Linked DNA regions of Homo sapiens: regions 1 and 2 are each linked to region 3. The links are contacts of gene promoters, found by promoter capture Hi-C in blood cells and fetal thymus (Javierre and others, 2016). All regions are on one chromosome and are shown on one strand. The core of a region is centred on a gene start or on the middle of the fragment in contact, and the rest is flanking DNA. Distances in the headings are between cores, read along the strand shown.

Region 1 (2,700 bases), core at 121-2,620, 1.2 Mb after region 3:
GTGCCTGTAGTCCCAGCTACTCGGGAGGCTGAGGCAGGAGAATGGCGTGAACCCGGGAGGCGGAGCTTTCAGTGAGCCAAGATTGCACCACTGCACTCCAGCCTGGGCGACAGAGTGAGACTCCATCTCAAAAATAAAATAAAATAAATTAAATTAAATTAAATTAAAAATAAAAAAAGAAGTATCAAGACAAAAACGTCAATAGTGCTGAGGTTGAGAAACCCTGATTTACAACATTAATATCTTTCACTCTGCATCAACATTTACAACATCTGTCCCTCCCAAATGAGGAATCTCATTTATTATTAGTAATTTCAGGACAGGAACTAAGTGAAATAAATTACTAAGTGAAAGGTAGTAACTAAATGTTCTTCTTCTGAGGGATCCCAAGGCTAAAATTACCAAAAATGAAAATAAAGCAAAATTAATTCAACCAAACTTGATTTTCATTGTACATGTGGCAATACTAGATGTTATGAATAACAACAAATGTAAGACATATGGTGCCCCAAAAAGCTTAATATTCTTGAGAGAATAAGACACATATACTTGGAAAAGTAATAACAGTAAGGCAAATTGTGAGTAAAAATGCTTAATATGTAAGTAAGAATAATTGAGAAAAATGAGTTGGCCTTTAAAAAATAGATTTAAGAAGAAAAGAATTTTAGAATGGAAGCAATTAACAATATCTCATTTAACTATTGATTTTGTAGGTGAAGTAGCTGAAACACAGACTGACTAACTTATCCAAATTATGAGAGCAAATTACTGAGACCAGAACTTTAGTCTCCTGATTCCTGATCCTTTGTTGCTGTTTCCTGTATAACACACTGCCTTTGTGATTGCTGGAAAGACATAAACAGAGAAGGCCGTGTATGACTATCAGTGGAAATGTACATCATCTCTTCATCATCATCATCATCATGTAGCAATGCTAGATGTTGTGAATACTAGATGCTGATTCTCAATCCTGGATATGTTGACCTCACGGTGGACATTTGGTGATGTCTGGGGACATTTTTGATTGTCCATCATCATCAGAGCTGACATTTGAGTGTTTAGTAAACATACTGGTGAAGGGTTCACATTATGAAATATCAGAAAGTAAGATTGGAAAGGAATGAGCATCTCAAGAAGAAAAGATAAGACTAAACAGAATAGTAACAGTCTCGATCTAAATGTTGTAGATGTTAAATGACAAATAAAAGCAAGTGCTACAAAAATTTCAAAGATGGTCAGATTCCGATGGCTTAAGGGTAGTTAGGCAGGGCTTGGTAGAAGAGGTGAGTTGGAGCTGAGAATTCAAGAGCTCCACAGGATTTGGAAAGAGAGGAGAGGTCAATCTAGATAAAGAAGGCAGTATAGGGCACAGAGTTAAATAAACCAAGTGGCTTTCAGGACAGCGAAGAAACAAAACTAGCTAGAGTAGAGGACTTGAGTAGAGGGGAAATAAGACTGAAAAGGCACGATGGCTCCAGATTGTGCAGGAACCCAGGCAAACTGAATTTACTCTGGCAAAGAGAAGTCACTGCAAGTGCTTAAGCAGAATAACTTGATTAAAGTTTTAGGAAGATTCATCTGGCAATGACGTAGGATGGATTGAGCCAAGAGAGATATAAGGGAAGGCAGGGAGCTATTCATCTAATAAGAGTAAGAATAAAGAATAACAATACTATACAATATCTATAATGTATTTAGTTATTATTACTTGGTAGACACTGTGCTAACATGCACTTTTTAATTTAATTCTCATCACAACCCTACAAAGGAAATTGAATTAGTGAACATTTTTTCCCCTCCACTCTCACATACCACTCAACACAACACTTCCCACACCACATGTGTGGGAGTTATTTCCCCACACACCAAGCAATCAGCTCTGCAGTGGACATCAGCTGGGTGTCTTCTAGTTCAATTATGATTCTATATACTTGGAAATAGGGTCAAATCCCACAGGTTGAGGGCTCAGGCCCGCAAGAATTCCCCCCGCTTCAGATGCCAGTCACAAGTAGTAGACTGTCACCCATACTTCTGACTGACCAGCAATAAATTGGGAGCCCCTACAACCCCCTCCTTAGATTCAGTTAACTTGCTAGAGCAGCTTACAGAACTCAGGCAAACATTTTACTTACATCAACTCACTAATTACGGAGGATATTACAAAGGATACAGATGAACAGCCAGCTGGAAGAGGTACATAGGGCAAGGCATGTGAGGGGGGTATGAAGCTTCCATGCCCTCTCTGAGCATGCCACCCTCAAGGAACCTCTATATGTTCAGCTATTCAGAAGCTCCCCACAAGCTATCCTTTTAACTTTTTATGGAAACTTTATTACATAGGCATGATTGATTACACTGGTCATTGGTGATCAACTCAGTCTGCAGCCTCTCTCCCCTCCCTGGTGGCTGGGAGATGGGGCTGAAAGTCCCAACACTCATCATGCCTCGGTCTTTCTGGTGACCAGCCCCCATCCTGCAACCAGTCATCTCACTAGCATTCAAAAGCCACTCTTATCATTTAAGAGATTTCAAAGGTGAGATTTCTAGCCTGGGTGAGATGTTGTCCAGGCTAGAGTGCAGTGGTGTGATCATAGCTCACTACAGCCTCTACCTCCCATGCTCAAGTGTATTATCCCCATTTTATAAGTGAGAAAATTGAGTCAAAGAGATGCTAAGTAACTTGTCCTTATCACAAACTAG
Region 2 (2,800 bases), core at 53-2,552, 1.2 Mb after region 3:
ACAGGATAATCGCTTGAACCCAGGAGGTGGAGGTTGCAATGAGCCGAGATCATGCCACTGCACTCCAGCCTAGGTGACAGCAAGACTCCATCTCAAAAAAAAAAATTATTAAAGCATAGAAATTATATGTATGCACGTATATACACATTATATGTGTGTGAGAGAACACAACACTGCTTTTGTGATTTTTTTTTTTTAGATCAAATCACTCTTTTATGGTTAAAAGCAGGGACTCAGTCTGAAGCCAAACTGCTTGAGTTAGAATTTCAGCTCCACTACTTACTAGCTGAGTAACCTTGGGCAAGTTATTTAACTTCCCTGTGCCTCATGTTATTCATCTGTGAAAAGCAGATAATCCCACAGCTGAAAATTACATGAATTAATAAATGTAAAGCACATAGAACAATGGCAGGCACATAAAGTACTCCCTAAGTACCTGTTACATAATGTGCATTAAGCAGTATGCCCCATATCATGTAGTTTCAAGCTTTTCTTATGCCAGAACTATACTGTCCTGTTTTAGGACCTGAAGGTGGCAAGACAGTAGAAAGCAGGAGTAAGAGTGGAAATGAAAGCAGGTAATAGATTCCCTAGAACTGAGTTAATGCCCCTCTAAACTGTTCTGATACTACCCTGTATTGAATTTATGATGGCCTTAGCCATTCTTTCTCCATTTGACTGCTATAAAACGGAGATAAGGGAATGAGCAATTTATGAGCTGGGAATTTATTATCAGAAAACTGACCAATGTTATCTCTTGCAGAAGGTCCTACAGTGTAGGGGAAGCAATGGAAGAACTTCTACCTGATGGACAAATATGGGCTAATATGGATCCAGAAGAACGAATGTTGGCAGCTGCTACAGCTTTTACCCACATCTGTGCAGGGCAGGGTGAAGGAGATGTCAGGAGAGAAGCCCAATCTATCCAATATGATCCCTACAGTAAAGCTTCAGTAGCCCCAGGGAAGCGACCTGCTCTTCCTGTGCAACTACAGTACCCACATGTAGAAAGTAATGTCCCTTCAGAAACAGTCTCTGAGGCCTCCCAAAGACTCCGAAAGCCAGTGATGAAGAGAAAGGTGCTGCGCAGAAAGCCAGATGGGGAAGTATTAGTAACAGATGAGTCGATTATCAGTGAATCAGAATCTGGTACAGAAAATGATCAGGATCTCTGGGACTTAAGACAAAGGCTGATGAATGTACAGTTCCAGGAAGACAAGGAATCTTCATTTGATGTTTCACAAAAATTTAACCTACCACATGAATACCAAGGAATTTCTCAAGATCAGCTCATTTGCTCTCTACAAAGAGAAGGAATGGGCTCTCCAGCTTACGAACAAGACCTGATTGTTGCCAGCAGACCCAAGTCCTTTATTCTCCCAAAGCTGGACCAGTTAAGCCGAAACCGGGGCAAGACAGACCGGGTAGCCCGGTATTTTGAGTACAAACGGGACTGGGACTCAATACGTTTACCTGGTGAAGATCATAGAAAGGAATTACGCTGGGGTGTCCGAGAGCAGATGCTTTGTCGAGCAGAACCCCAATCCAAACCTCAGCATATATATGTCCCAAACAATTATCTAGTACCAACAGAGAAGAAAAGGTCTGCACTCCGTTGGGGTGTTCGTTGTGACCTTGCAAATGGTGTCATACCCAGGAAGCTTCCCTTCCCTCTTTCTCCTTCTTAAATCTTTTTAAACTTCTTTCACAGGATTGTTTGAGATAACCTAGCTCTTTATATCTTCCCTTTTAAATAGAAACAACTGTCTTGAGAAGCTCTTCGAAACATTTTATGGTAAGGACTTCACCTATCATTGGTCTTTCCTAGCTATATATCACATTGGTATCAGATGATACTTCCAAATTGCCACTCAAATCCAGCAATTGCAAGATAAATCATATCAGAGAAAGAACAACAGACCTGGTCTTTCTATTTTGTCAAATTAGTAAGGGCCCTTTGTGTCCTGTAACTTTTTTTACCTATCAATATGAGTTGCTGTGCTTCAGTGTGTGTTTTTTAAGTTGCTGGGCATTACACTTACCAATTAAAGAATTTTGGAAATTCATGAACTTGAACATTATTTCATGAAATACTTGCCTAAGATGATCTTGAACCTGGGCTATGATGAGAGCTCAAAAGAAGGAACAAGCCGGGCGCGGTGGCTCACGCCTGTAATCCCAGCACTTTGGGAGGCTGAGGCGGGCGGATCACGAGGTCAGGAGATCGAGACCATCCTGGCTAACACGGCGAAACCCCGTCTCTACTAAAAATACAAAAAATTAGCCGGGCGAGGTGGCGGGCGCCTGTAGTCCCAGCTACTCGGGAGGCTGAGGCAGGAGAATGGCGTGAACCCCAGGGGGCGGGGCCTGCAGTGAGCCGAGATTGCGCCACTGCACTCCAGCCTGGGCGACAGCGAGACTCCGTCTCAAAAAAAAAAAAAAAAAAAGAAGGAACAAAAACCTGCCTTTTACATAGTCCTAAAGGATGGGAGAGGTTAACAACATGGATAGCCTCATTACTAAAGGTGTACAACAAATCCAAGTAGCTTTAAAATACTTTCTAACAAATGCCCCAAAACAGTACCATATAACATACAGGATTCAAACTTGTTTTATTTCAGAATTATTTCATTAATATTTTGCCTGCCAGCTGTTATTTCTGGAATACCATTCTTTTTATAATTTGCCCCTGAGATTTTTGTAGGAATTATGCATCATTTGGAAGGGTATTCCTACTCCAGTAGAAATTCAAACTAGTAACATCTGGAATCAGATGCAAACATAAATACCAATATGAACC
Region 3 (2,700 bases), core at 67-2,566:
ATATAATTTTGTACATCTCAAGCATTACATGGTAAACATGGGCACAGGGAGAATGACTTAAAGGAAAAACGTCAGGATACGCAACCAAGTAGAGTACTAATGAATGAAAAATGTGATCAATGTTAATGAAGGTGATGTAACAATAAGACCCAAAGGAGGAGATAAAATACTGACACTAAAATAAACAGCCTTTAACTGAAAACCTAATAAAATATCTTTTCCCCACCTCATAAGATGGATCTCAAAGGTCACTGAGTGGAGATAAGAGTCAGGAAATGGCATACAGAGTGCTAGCATTTTGCACTTTTGTTAGACTCTGAACAATCATTTATGGGCTGCAGTTTGTCTGAATCTAGGTACTTTTCCGGCTCTCAGGTAGAGCAGGAGTCATTTTTCTGCACGCTGTTCTCCTACCCCAACTATCATTTCTTAACAGGGATCTCTGGGGTCCACTCTTTGAGTGTTTTGAAACAGAAAGGAAGAAATCCAACATTATCACTTTAGTTTGCATTATCAGACAGATTGCACCTTCTGCTTTCTCCATACTGTGACCCAGTGTCCAGCCTAGGGTATTCGAATGGCAAGATCTGACCTGCGCAACAGCCAAAGGGAGCCACCAGCCTCCCCTATGCCACTCACATTTTCCCACCACCAATATCTGTAAGCGGTACCAGAAATCAAAACTGAGCCTTAAATAGTCAGAGCTAGTGAGGGGGTTGTATTTCTTAGCCCTGATAACCACTTAAACGAGTAAAATTTAATTCCCCTAAGGAACCCCGCCTGAAGCAAACCCTCCCCAAGGGCACCACTGAGGGGGTAGCGCTGAAATGTTTTGGAAGATTCAGTCACCTGTTTCCAAATATTACCTAACTAGCTTCGCCTCCTTCCCTCCGAGCTCCCCTGCAGTTACTCCAGGACCCCGAAGGCCTCTTTCTGGGCACATTTGGGCCTCCCCACTCAGACAAGCCGCACTTTCTCCCTGCTCACAGGCTGCATGTCAGGGATGGTAAGTGGGGGGTGGAGAAAGTGGAGAGGCCGGGGTTCAACCCAGCAGACTCCTGCAGACCGGGCCTCGGTCGGAGACGCGAGCCCCTAGCCTAGCTAGGTTCCTTCGTCGACCTTGAGAAAGGGGCGCGGATCCGTGTCCCGCAGAGGACACGGGGTCTCGGAGCCCGCACAGGCTGAGGGGCAGGGGTCCGGCCGAGCCGGGCCGCCTCACCTGCACTTCTGTCGGCCCACAGGATTAATGGCAGCACCAGCCCGAGTACAAGCCCCGGCGCGACCATGCTTGCAAGGATCTGACCGCCGCCTAGGACTGGGAAAGTGGGTTCCCGGCAGGGGCGGGGCCTGGGCGGGGGCGAGGCCGACTCCACCCTTTTGCAGTCCTCGCAGCCTCCCGCGACCTCAGGACTGGGCTGTACTCGCCCCTTCTCGGCCGCCGTAGTTTTTTTTTTTTTTTAAAGAAAAAACGGTTACCCAGCAACTAGAAAAACAACCGGAACCGGCGGCACCAGCTCGGAGAGAAAGGAGGTGAGGCCGCTTCCCCACTTCCTCTCCGATACCAAGACCTAGCCTTTTCCCTTCGTCTCTCTTATTCTCTCAGCATCCCAGACACAGCCTCGGAGCCCTGGGCCGTTTGGGAGCCGAGGCAGCCCATTCTGCGCGAGTCTGAAATCCCAGGTCCTCAACATCCCGCCCCCGACTAGACCCGTCTGCCCCCTCCGCCCGCCCTCCTCTGCCCACATTGGTTCAGAATCTCGCCAGCTCTTTTCACCACTCTAGAATGGTTCGATACCCCCATCTACTGCTCCCTCAGAAAAAGCAAAAGAGAGGAGTCAGGCGTGGTGGCGCGCGCCTGTAATCCCAATTGCTCGGGAGGCTGAGGCGGGATCATCGCTGGAGCCCAGGAGTTCGAGGCCAGAGACCCCCTCTCAAAGAAAAAAAAAGCGATGAAACGAGAACCCTCCATAGTCTGAGCCTCATTAAACCGTCCAGTTCTCCCAACCTGGACCCCTACCACGGCCTCCGCCTCTATTCCGCATTGACGCACACTCTCACATTAACAGGCCAGGTCCCGGAGGATTCTTTTCATACTCAGTAGTAGCTCAGCCCGCTGCTTAGCAGCTACCCTTAATCTAGCCCTTGTATTTCAAGACAGAAAGAGACAACCTGATCAAGAAGAAACCGAAAAATATAAGAATTCTAAAACTTTAGAGGCTGGGATTTCAAAATCATGACACACAGCCCCATCCCATCCCATCCCTCCCTCACACACACGCACGCACAACCCCATTCCACAGTACGAAGGTGTTCGAAGCATTGTGGGTCATGCTTCAGAAGTGGCAGCAAGGGGAAAGATTGTGCAACTTCTTCATTCAACAAATTAATTTCTAGAACCAGGACTAATTTCTACTCTTTAAAAAAAAATAGACCTCAAAGAAGGTCTTCTCAGCAATTGACAATGAATTTAACTTTTTAGCAATCATTCTCTCTAAATTCCTGTGTGATAGCAAAAATTACCCTTACCTTTTGAGCATATAAAGGGTAAAGAGAGAAAAAGTCATATTGAAAATTATGGGTTTTTTGCAGGATTTTAAATGATTTGGCCTAGTGAATGGGTCTGTGTTTGTATTATACTAATTCACAATGGAGATTTCAAAACTCTTTGGAAGAAATGGATGGGCTTGGGTTGTGTTAGGG

The links. Contacts are between HindIII fragments. The CHiCAGO score rates a contact against its expected background, and 5 or more counts as called.
Region 1: a contact is called between a fragment that was not itself captured here and the fragment with the promoter of SIAE in region 3, in 2 of 17 cell types (total B cells and non-activated CD4 T cells). The highest score is 6.0, in total B cells.
Region 2: a fragment that was not itself captured here is called in contact with the fragment with the promoter of SIAE in region 3 in 1 of 17 cell types (total CD8 T cells); the score reaches 7.6 in total CD8 T cells.

What each region holds. Positions count from the first base shown.
Region 1 is chr11:125,877,342-125,880,041 of GRCh38, forward strand. LINC03136 (long intergenic non-protein coding RNA 3136) reads right to left here. Exons shown (of 2, transcript XR_007062935.1): 1 at 1-2,700. Among named protein-coding and RNA genes, the nearest start is that of LINC03136, 4.2 kb to the right of the region's middle. The HindIII fragment of the contact is 1,712 bases long and covers 515-2,226 here.
Region 2 is chr11:125,898,581-125,901,380 of GRCh38, forward strand. HYLS1 (HYLS1 centriolar and ciliogenesis associated) reads left to right here. Exons shown (of 3, transcript NM_001134793.2): 3 at 764-2,066. The coding sequence starts at 789. The coding sequence ends at 1,688. All of the region lies in intron 1 of PUS3 (pseudouridine synthase 3), which reads right to left. Among named protein-coding and RNA genes, the nearest start is that of PUS3, 3.2 kb to the right of the region's middle. The HindIII fragment of the contact is 713 bases long and covers 947-1,659 here.
Region 3 is chr11:124,672,423-124,675,122 of GRCh38, forward strand. SIAE (sialic acid acetylesterase) reads right to left here and starts at 1,317. Exons shown (of 10, transcript NM_170601.5): 1 at 1,220-1,317. The coding sequence starts at 1,286. SPA17 (sperm autoantigenic protein 17) reads left to right here and starts at 1,482. Exons shown (of 5, transcript NM_017425.4): 1 at 1,482-1,530. RefSeq lists silencers at 1,253-1,372, 1,345-1,503 and an enhancer at 1,413-1,592. The HindIII fragment of the contact is 8,074 bases long and covers 1-2,700 here.